Regions from separate parts of the Homo sapiens genome. Here all the other regions are linked to region 3. The links are contacts of gene promoters, found by promoter capture Hi-C in human tissues and cell types (Jung and others, 2019). All regions are on one chromosome and are shown on one strand. Each heading gives the region's core, a stretch centred on a gene start or on the middle of the fragment in contact. The rest is flanking DNA. Distances are from core to core; before and after follow the strand shown.

What was found. Contacts are between HindIII fragments. The study calls those that stand out against the background at their distance.
Region 1: a fragment that was not itself captured here is called in contact with the fragment with the promoter of GCM2 in region 3 in 2 of the 25 tissues and cell types used here (mesendoderm cells and stomach).
Region 2: a contact is called between a fragment that was not itself captured here and the fragment with the promoter of GCM2 in region 3, in 1 of the 25 tissues and cell types used here (aorta).

What each region holds. Positions count from the first base shown.
Region 1 is chr6:11,010,047-11,013,771 of GRCh38, forward strand. It overlaps ELOVL2 (ELOVL fatty acid elongase 2), which reads right to left. Exons shown (of 8, transcript NM_017770.4): 2 at 700-763. Among named protein-coding and RNA genes, the nearest start is that of ELOVL2-AS1, 32 kb to the right of the region's middle. The HindIII fragment of the contact is 6,284 bases long and covers 1-3,725 here.
Region 2 is chr6:11,074,294-11,077,908 of GRCh38, forward strand. It overlaps ELOVL2-AS1 (ELOVL2 antisense RNA 1), which reads left to right. Exons shown (of 5, transcript NR_038964.1): 5 at 3,396-3,615. Among named protein-coding and RNA genes, the nearest start is that of SMIM13, 18 kb to the right of the region's middle. The HindIII fragment of the contact is 3,630 bases long and covers 280-3,615 here.
Region 3 is chr6:10,880,558-10,884,251 of GRCh38, forward strand. It overlaps GCM2 (glial cells missing transcription factor 2), which reads right to left and starts at 1,484. Exons shown (of 5, transcript NM_004752.4): 1 at 1,147-1,484. The coding sequence starts at 1,236. RefSeq lists a silencer at 1,379-1,673. The HindIII fragment of the contact is 12,545 bases long and covers 1-3,694 here.

The sequences.
Region 1 (3,725 bases), core at 890-3,389, 130 kb after region 3:
AGAGTCTCACTCTGTTGCCCAGGATGGAGTGTAGTGGCGCGATCTTGGCTCACTGCAAACTCTGCCTCCTGGGTTCAAGTGATTCTCCTGCCTCAGCCTCCTGAGTAGCTAGGATTACAGGCATAAGCCACTACGCCTGGCTAATTTTTGTAATTTTAGTAGAGACGGGGTTTCACCATGTTGGTCAGGCTGGTCTTGAACTCCTGACCTCATGATCCGCCCACCTCAGCCTCCCAAAGTGCTGGGATTACAGGCATGAGCCTCCACACCCAGCCAGCGCACACATCTTTAAAGGGAATTTATCAAGGCATCTAAGGGCAGAAATGTCACATATAACTAGGATGTAAGAAAGGTGGAAGATGAATGGGCAGTGGAGAGGAAACAAGAAAGCAGCATCCTTTAGAAGGAAAGTTACAACCCGGCTTTGTAGCCAGACAGACACTGGAGGAAAGCATTGCATTTCACTCTATCTCTGCTTCCTGCTCCCAGAACTTCTTTAATCCCAGGAGAGGTTAAGCAGTAGGAGAAATGGGATCTTCTGGACATTCTGGAAGGATATCAAAGTTGAGGAAGTTAAGTTTCTAAATATTAAGTACCTTACTATTTCCAAGACACCAGAAATAACATAATCCCTTTCTATAACTAAATGGTGTTCTTCCTGTGTTCCTTCCACATTAAGTTCTCAAGTAATTCACTGACCTCGCGGTCCAAACATATTGTCCAAAAAAGCATTGATTTCATCATCAAAGGCCTTTAGATGTTCCTAAAAAGAGAAAGAAAAAATGATTTAAGTGTTTTTTTCTTCTTTTTTTGAAACGGTCAAAACAAGCCACTACCAACAACATGTAACTGACAGACTTTCAAAGGGTCCCAGCTTCAAGGACTTTTGACTGCAAAGACTTAAGGAAAGAGGACAGTAAATGCATCCTCACCTTTCACAAGCCTATAAAGATTTGGAAGGAAACAATTCCTCTTATTTCCTTAGGCAAGAGGAGTCCTAGAGAACAGACTTGGTGCATTTAAACATTGAAGGGTTGGCCAGGCGCGGTGTCTCACACCTGTAATCGCAGCACTTTGGGAGGCTGAGGCAGGCGGATCACGAGGTCAGGAGATCGAGACCATCCTGGCTAACATGGTGAAACCCCATCTCTACTAAAAATACAAAAAAAATTAGCCAGGCATGGTGGCAGGCACCTGTAGTCCCAGCTACTCAGGAGGCTGAGGCAGAAGAATGGCGTGAACCCGAGAGGCAGAGCTTGCAGTGAGCCGAGATCACGCCACCTCACACCAGCCTGGGCGACAGAGTGAGACTCTGTCTCAAAAAAAAAAAAGAAAAAAAAACATTGAAGGGTTATTGACCTAAATTCCATTTACCTCTAAAATGCTTATAGGCAAAGCTGTTCCATAAGCAACTTCCCTTGTTACAATAACAGTTGTGGGTAGGCAATAGAGAACATCTGTTTCCACAAAATATATTCATAAATCCAGTTTTAAAATGAAAATTCAGGCTGAACTGTATTTCGTAAAACTGAATCTAAAACTTTAAGTAGGACTGTTTTTCAAGTAAGGAGCATTACAGCTATTTTTTCTATTTATGTTTTGTTTGTTTTCAAACTATTTCTTACACATTAACATCTACTTTATATTACTGTAAATAGTGCCACTTGGGTACACCCGATTAATTATTGTCACTTTCACTGGATTCAGGTGGGAGCCGGAATACTGCCAGCATGGTCTGCTCTCACGCTGCTCAAAATACCCGTTCAGGTATTTCCCAGCTCCGCCACAGAGGTCTACAGCACCTCCTCAAGCAACCAGAGGAGAAGTCAGAACATTACCAGTATTTCCAGGAAGGTGGGGCCAGCGGGTTGGTCCCTGACTGTGTGTGAGCTGAGCATGACAGCCTCGGGAAGTTGATATGGAGCATGCATTAGATTCAGCTCACTCTCAAAAAAAGTTGTAAGTGCCAAAACAGATGATTAATTTGCTGGCATCTGAAAAAGAGGAGCGGCATGTTTGCTGCCTGGCACATATCACTTGGACCTATTCCTTATTTGTGACTCTGATCCTGAGAGAAATTTCAAGGAAACGTATGTCTTCGGGAACTTTAGAAAGCTTGGGAAAGAGGATGAAGATGATGACTAACATTGACTGGCACCTACTATTGCTGGCCAGCATATAAGGAACTTTATCTTCATTATTTCATAATATCTTTATAAAAAATATCTGGGCTAAACCAAGCCTGAAAATTTTTAAACAGTATATTCATCTTTGTTTCCATGTAGGGCATCTCGGGAGGCCCCCGATGTGAGAAAGGTCAGTTACCTGAGATCTCAGTGTGACAGAATATGATCTGTGTTGCTTTAGAATGGGGGCGGCTGACCAGAGGCCTCTCAGTCTTGAGCAAAGAATGTTAATCTCACAAATGTACTCACCATCATAACAAATGCCAATGAAGTCTTTCTTCCATTGCTGCACCCACAAACAAATGTTTAAACTGTTTCAGCTTGTTTGCTAAGGTTCAAAATCCATTTTCCAACATTTGTAGAGCTAAGAAAACGCTAAAGGTCACAAAGCCCGTATTATTTCTATATTGCAAAAATTTAGTCACAGTGGAAGAAGGGCAGAAACAAAAGTAAAACAAGGGAAGATGTGGAGAACAGAAAAGGAAAGAGATGAATAAAAAGAGGCATTCCATTCCTTTATTCATTAATTTATTGATTCATTAACCAATTATTTGAGGATTTTATATACTAGCACTGTTATATGCTGAAAAATAAAGTCAAATGAGATGTGGTCCTTATCGTCACAGAGTTCTTAGTGGAGAGAGAGTAATACACAAATAAATAAAAAAATTGCAGTACCAGTGTCTTAAATATTATAAGAGATGTGCTATAAAGGATAGAGAAACATACTTTAATTTAGATCTCTTAAAAAGTAAAGCCTTCTTGGAAGAGATAATGCTGTGGCTGAATTTTGAAAGACTGGAGACATTTTCCAGATGGAGAAGGAAAGAAAGAACACATCAGAAAGAAAGATTAACATAGATAAAACACATTGAGGCATGACTCCCTTGGGAAATGTTTTTATGGCCAGGGTCTCTAGTGACCTATCTGACAGAGAGAACCACAGCCAATGCTGGGAAAATCAGAAACCTGATAAAAATTCTCTCTTTATTTCTGGGTTACTTAATATAGTTAGTAAGGAAGTAGTCTAAAAAGGCAATGATGAGATGAGGTGATGTCAGGGGAACAAACTGAGGTTTACACTGGAATAGTAAAACATAGCATAAGCACAGAGAGGTCTGCAGTGTTAGTGAACTGGGGTGAGATTAGGAAGGCTAACTGGGCAGAGCTTGGACCACAAAGTCCTAGCTGCACACTAGACTAGATTCTGTATGTAAATGTCAAGTGTGCTGGACAATGTCTGAAGATTAACACCAACTTAGGAGCAGAGAAAAAGCAGCAAACTCCATGCATTTCATTGACACATTTTTGAACAGCATTCGTGTACATAACACTTTGTCATACATATGAAGGAAAAGGAGACAGAGTAGTTGACTGAAAAGTTTATGCACAAATTGGGAAAGTGAGACATAGAAAGTCAAACAGCAAACAACCGAGAGGAGGAGGACACACAGAACTGCCACACGACAGAAGATACAGGCGTGCGGATGCAGGATGGGTTTTTCAAGATGGTTAGAATTGGGTGGATGAGAAGGGAAC
Region 2 (3,615 bases), core at 845-3,344, 190 kb after region 3:
AGCCTTCCAAGTAGCTGGGATTACAGGCATGTGCCACCATGCCTGGCTTACTTTGTATTTTTAGTAGAGATGGGGTTTCTCCATGTTGGTCAGGCTGGTCTCAAACTCCTGATCTCAGGTGATTCACCTGCCTCGGCCTCCCAAAGTGCTGGGATTACAGGTGTGAGCCACTGCACCTAGCCTGCAATCTATTTTTTAAAATGCTTTTCACAAGTGAATGGCAGCCTGCAGTTTGCAAAACTGGAACTGGATGACCTTTTCAGCTTTCATCTTTTTTAAAAAAAAATCACAATTCATTGGCAAAATGTCATAAGACTGTATTGCATTTAGATTCCTAAAGCATTCATTTGTCTTTTTTTTTTGGGAGATGGCGTCTTGCTCTGTTGCCCGGGCTGGAGTGCAGTGGCACAATCTCGGCTCACTGCAATCTCCGCCTCCTGGGTTCAAGCAATTCTCCTGCCTCAGCCTCCCAAGTAGCTGGGACTACAGGTGCATGATGCCACGCCAGGCTAATTTTTTGTATTTTAGTAGAGACGGGGTTTCACCGTGTTGCCCAGGCTGGTCTCAAACTCCTGAGCTCAGGGAAACTGCTCACCTCGGCCTCTCAAAGTGCTAGGATTACAGGTGTTTTTATTGTGTGAAATGGAATATTGGAAAGTGGGATTCCAGGGTAACCTGGATGGCAGAAAAGACCTGCTTGCTATGTCTTCCAGGAGCACTTTTTATTATAGATACCACTTATTTTCCCCCTAATCTACAATATAACTACATGTTTGATCTCTGGAATTTTATAAAGGCAAGCTGGAGTATTTTTTCCCTCAAAACTACTTAACTCTCACTTAAGCAGGCAGTAGAGCAGCGTGGTTAAGAGCATGGACTGATGGCAGGCTGTCTGGTCAGCATCCTGGCCATCCCACATACTAGCTGTATAATTTTGGTCTACTTACTTAACCTTACATGCCTCACTTTCCTCATCTATAAAATGGGAATAATAATACTAGTTGAGTATCCCTTTTCCAAAATGCTTGGGACCAGAAGTATTTAGAATTTCAGATTTTTTTAAAATTTTGGAATATTTGCATATACATAATGAGATATCTTGGGGATGGGACCCAGGTCTAAACATAAAGTTATGTTTCATATATACCTCATACACATAGCTTGAAGGTAATTTTATACAACATTTTAAATAATTTCGTACATTAAACAAAGTTTGTGTACACAAGGTCAAGTGTGAAATTTTCTGCTTGTGGTGTTATATCAGTGCTCAAAACTTTTGGAATTTTGAATTAGGAATGGTCAGCCTGTAGTTCCTACCTAACAGAATTGAGGTGAAGATTGAATGAGTTAACATCGTAGACAAGTACAACAGGAATGTTATTAGCTACTGTTAGCTGGACTTAAATTACAATGTAAAGTTTGAGCCTAACTCCAATTTCATGACAAAGTAGAAGAGTAGTGTTATGTTAATAAGTACTTCTAAACCAGTGTCTTGATATTGAGCTACAATAAATATTAAGTCCAATAAAGGTGTTTTTGTTAATCCAAAATGCAATTTCCCCTCAGTCCTGATTCAAGCAGGCCTGCAATAACTTAGTTATCCAACTGATTAACATTCTAAAACTATACTGAGGGAAAAAACATTCTACCAGAAATTTACATTTTGTACTGGAAAATGAAGATCCAGTAAAATGTCACATTTCTGTAGGAATGTAACAATCAGGGCTTTTGTTGTTTAAATGGAAGGATGCAGGCTCCATTCTGTGTAACACCAAAGAAATATGACATGTTTGAGAAATTTTGTATTTTTTTGCATGGTGGCCTTACTTTCTTGTTGTTACTCATTTTTGGGGTGGGGGGAGGTCAGTGGAAAGTGCTTATAGAAGTTTAGAAAAAGTTAGATTCCGCTGCTAAAGGAAGGAAATACGGTATCCATTTTTTCAAATGTTCTACCTATTAAATTGTGAAAATAATAGTATAGATACCCTTTCAAAGTTCTAAATTGGTTAACTTTCCCCCCAAAAAACTAACAAGTGAACCTAAACAGCTACAATATAAACTTTTATAAACATGGCCTAGAACCAAATATTCTACCTGTCATAGGAATGATTACACCACAGAAGGAGGTGAGAATCAGTCATACTTGCCTTCTTGCTTATGACATGTCATTGCTGTCTGTGTAGGTAAAAATCTATTACTATAGTTAGTCGTCTAAATTGCCATAGGAAACTGGTGTGTGTTCAGTGCCTAACTGCAGCTTAACCACTTCTAAAACTTGAACCATAAATGCTTCATATGTATGTGGATTTTCATAACGTCAGAATGGGAGGAAGGCACAGAGTATTTAAGATAAAGGTATTTTTCCAAATAAGGTCTAAAAGGAAAACATGAACTCCCTCCTCTCCCTGGCTCCCTACTCCTGTTAGTCGTAAAGCTTGCCCAAACACATCCTCTCCTTCCCACCCTTCCACCCTCCCTGTGCCCTTGCCCAGGACTTCATTAGCCCACATTTGCATCTCTACAGCCTCCTATAGGCTGCCTTGAGGCCTGAGGCCTTTCCAGCATATCCTCAATACTACTGCTAGGCCTCATCTGTTAAAAATATTACTTTGGGCTTATCATCTTCTCTCTTTATACTCTCATCACTTCCTTGCTTTAACTTGCAGATGGCCACTTGAGTCCTGGCAGCTCTCCTGATTGCCCCTCATGCATACATACACTGGAACCTTCCCACTGAACTCCTGTATCCAGATGTTCCACCATCACACTCCAAATCCGGCCTGGCAAATGCCACCTTGCTCCTCTCCCCAAGTCAAAGATTTTAGGGCACTGACTTTCATTCAGTCACTCGAGCTAGCAATCTAGAAGTTATCGTTGGCTCTTCCCATGTCCTCAGCAGCACAGACAGCTCATAAGTCCTGGCCCCACTGGGTTGTGCCCATCTGCCTTCCTTACATTCATTTCTTGTGGCTTTTTGCCTAGATGAGTAGACTTTGCAATATAATGCTGTACATTGAGGACATAGAAAGAAAATATGAGAAAGTATATGTATTTATGTTAAAAGGTAAGAAATTAAGCTTTCTTAATATTTGCTATAAAGATAGACACTGGGTCCTCAATTTGTCTCTTATGTTCCATGTTCACATGTCAAATAGAATAATAGGAAGTATCCTGAGGGCATGGTAGGAATTCCACTGTCAGTGTGTCACTCTGTTTTGCTGTTTCCTTGCTATGAGTTGTTTTCAATGGGCCTAATTTTGTAAAAGCAAGATTTTAAAATAACAGGCCATCACTAAAATGGCCAGGCAAACCGTTTCTTACCACCAGGAGTTTTCCGGCTTTTTTCTTGGCAAAGTATTTAAAGATAAGTTACACATATTTTTTATTTCTTTTAGATGAAAGTGTCCTAAGTTAGATTCCTGGGAAGAAAATTCTGAGACACATTCTGCAGGATGATTATTAGGGCTCATCCTTGGTTTCAACACCCATAGAAGGAAGGGGGAAGAAGAAATCGAACAGAGAGACAGAAGTCGAGATGCATTTCAGGCCAGGACTCTTGGCTGAACCCACAGGAGCTCTGGAGCTAGAATGGCCCTTCAGAGTTGTCCTGAGTTG
Region 3 (3,694 bases), core at 234-2,733:
ACTCAATTTTGGCCCTAACCAGTGTGACTAATGATAATTGGTCATTCTCTGGAACTGGCTTCAAACCACCCACTTCATTCACCACTTCATCCACCCCAGTCATTCTTTGGACTTGGCTCCAAACCATTTTTGCTTTATTGAAATAAAGCAAAATACAACAAATTCACCCTAAAAGAATGATGATTTGCTTGTCATTAGAGAAGAAGTAAGTTTTGGGTACAGGTGGCCTTGTTGGCATGACTATGGGGCCTCCTTCCTCTGAGCAGTTAGGGAGGTCTGAGCAAATTGCTCAAGTCGGGCTACTTGTTTTAAATTTAGGTCATTAGATTCACTTTACAGTTGTACCTCAGTTTTGCTGCATGAGAAGCAGTGGTATTTACATCTGCTTAGATTTTCTCCTTAGCTTCCTCATGGATTTAAAGTAAATGAATAAGGAGAGAGGCACCTAATTTCTACCTTGGTTAAAGGGAAGTGAAAGGACAGGCGTCCCGCTCTCCCCAAGACTGGGAATGTGGAGCCTGACCAACATTTCCTGCTGCTTTGCTTGTGATTTCAGGCAAGCACAAGGAAATTGCTGGGAGAAGACACATTTCTTCTTCTTCTTCTTCTTCTTTTTTTGAGATGGAGTTTTGCTCTTGTTGCCCAGGCTGGAGTTCAATGGCGTGATCTTGGCTCACCGCAACCTCTGCCTCTCGGGTTCAAGCGATTCTCCTGCCTCAGCCTCCCGAGTAGCTGCGACTTTAGGCATGCGCCACCACGCTGGGCTGATTTTGTATTTTTGGTAGAGACGGGGTTTCTCCATGTTGGTCAGGCTGGTCTTGAACTCCCGACCTCAGATGATCCACCCGCCTCAGCCTCCCAAAGTGCTGGGATTACAGGTATGAACCACAGCGCCCGGCCAAGAAGACACATTTCTAAACCCAACTCAGCCTTTTGTAGAGTCCAGTTTTCTTTCTACACTTGAGAGGGCCTCAGAAACCCAGAAATTTTGCGGGTATGTGTGTGTGTGTGTGTGTGTGTGTGTGTGTGTGTGTGTGTGTGTGTGTGTGTATGGTCCGTCCGCAGACTCTTCAAGAACTCGAATGCCATTCTCCCTCCTTCGGATGGACAGCGCCCCGCGTGCCCGCACACACCCGGTTCACTTACCTGAGGCATCTGCGGATCGTTGATGTCCCAGCTGAGCTGCATCCCGTAGGAGCACACGCCGACCGCTTCCTGCACCGCGGCCGCCGGCATCTGCCCAACTCGCTCGCGCTTTCCGCCCAGGGTTCTGAAAAATAGAAGAAAAAAGGACAGGTGCGCCAGGTGGGTTTTTTTTCTTCTCTTTAAAGAAGAAAGTGGGGTGTGTGAAGGGGAGGTGCAGAGAGAGAGAAAGAGAGAGAGGCTGTTTAGATATCTGGAAGCTGGGGACAATGGTTATGGACCCGGGCGGGGCCTTGTCCTTGGCCGCGGTGCTGAACGTTCTCCACCCGAACGGCAGCATCGACCTCTGGCAGCTGCCCCCTCCTTTATAAAGATATACCTCCGGGGGGCTCCGCCCTGTCTCGCCTACCTCGCTAGCGCCCACGCTCCAGGGGCCGGTCGCCCCCTCCACCACAGTCCCAGGAACGGAGGTGGAGGTTAAACTCAGCCCTGGAAGCAAATGGAAACTGCAGCCAGAGGGTGGGGGTGGAGAGGGTAAGTAGGAATGTATCCTTTAAGTTTAAAACCTTATTATTTTCTTCTTTTCTTTTCTTCTTTTTTGTCTCACTCTGTTGCCCAGGCTAGAGTGCAGTGGCGCCATCTCAGCTAACTGCAACCTCTGCCTCCCAGGTTCAAGCGATTCTCCTGCCTCAACCTCCCGAGTAGCTGGGAATACAGGTCCGTGCCACCACCCTGGCTAATTTTTGTATTTTTAGTAGAGACAGGTTTTAGCCATGCGAAACCCTGACCAAGCTGGTCTTGAACTCCTGACGATCTGCCCGCCTGGGCCTCCCAAAGTGCTGGGATTACAGGCGTGAGCAACCGCGACCGGCCTATTTTTTTTCTTTTTTCTAAACGCGTCCAGCTTCCCTGATTTCGGAAAGGGGCTTAGATGGAGGCTTTCCAGCAAAGTCCCCTGAGAGCCAACACTCAATTCCAGGAGAGCATGGGAACCGTGCGTGGGCCCCTCTGCCGTCCGCGTGCGCCCTAGCCTGAATAACCGCGCCCACGCCTCCTAGTTAGGGGTCAGCCCATTTTGGGCCTCCACTGCCGGCTCTTCCCCTAACTATTGTGAGTGTCTCGCAGTCTTGGCTCTGCTGTTTGGGACGTGCCAGGGTGCGCCAAGCCTCCGCGTATGCTCGCGAGCCCAGGCGCCTTCACGCTCCCGGGGACTTCGGAGGGACCTGGCCCTGCAGGAACGGAGTCCTACAAAGTGAACCTGGAGGAGGTGGGGGGCGGAAATGAGCCCGGGGTAGGTGGGAGCCTGGGGTAGGTGGGAGCCTGGGGAAGGAGGGAAAGGGGAGAGGGGAAAAGTCCCAAAGAACTCGCTTTCTCCACTGCTTTGGCTCCCTCTGGGTCTCAGCTTCCTTATCTGTTTATCTGTTAAATAAGAGGTTGTGGTTCGGCGAGCTCTCAGTTGCCACCCACCCGAACACAAATCTTTTTTTTTTTTTTTTTTTTTGAGACGGAGTCTCACTCTGTCTTCCCGGCTGGAGTGCAGTGGCGCAATCTCGGCTCACTGCAACCTCCGCCTCCCAGGTTCAAACGATTCTCCTGCCTCAGCCTCCCGAGTAGCTGGAACTACAGGCGCGCCATCGCGACCAGCTAATTTTGTATTGTTAGTAGAGACAGGGTTTTACCAAGTTGGCCAGGATGGTCTCGATTTTTTGACTTCGTGATCCTCCTGTCTCGGCCTCTCAAAGTGCTGGGATTAAAGGCGTGAGCCACCGCGCCCGGCCCACAACTCTTAAAAAAAAACTTCACTGATATAGTCTTGGAAATATCACGACGAAATTGAATTTACTCCATTACAGTCTTGGGAGGCTTTGGAGGACTAGAGAATCGCGGTGGTGCGGAGGTGCGCAGGACAATGTGGGTTCTCCGGGGCTGGGACGAAACCTTCATCATCTGAGCAGCCGACTCGCCCAGGGCTACTCCGGCACATGGAGACCCTCAGTATATATATATATAAAAAAAACAAAAAACAAAAAACAAACAAAACAAAACAAAACCGATTGAAGTGACTAAAGTCACTCTTTGACTACCCCAAGGCCGGATTCTTGGCGGCCAGGGGAAAGGGCTTCTGGAATTTATTGCCCGCGTCCTTGTTTTGCAGCTGCACGCTTCCATTCCCAGCCCCAGCCAGAGAAGAGGAGCCAACTCCTCACGGCAGATCCCTTGATAGAGGAGGATGAACCGAATCCATGACCCTCCAGACCCGGGAAGCGACGCACCCTAGGCCTTGGCACCGCAAAGCCCGTGCTGAGCGCACGGACGGGTGCTGCCCGGGACTCGGCCAGGAGGGCGCCCATGCCAACGCCTCTTGCAGGATTAGTGCCTTCGGTTGGCAAAAGGCGGATAAAGGAAGAGCGAAACCACATCAGGAAGCTAAGGGTGGTCCACGCTCCCTGTCCTTTTACTTCCCGCGCCAAAGGCACAGTGAGGCTTGCTTAGAAAAGTCCATCCCGCGATTGGGCGCAGTGGCTCATGCCTGTAATCCCAGCACTTTGGG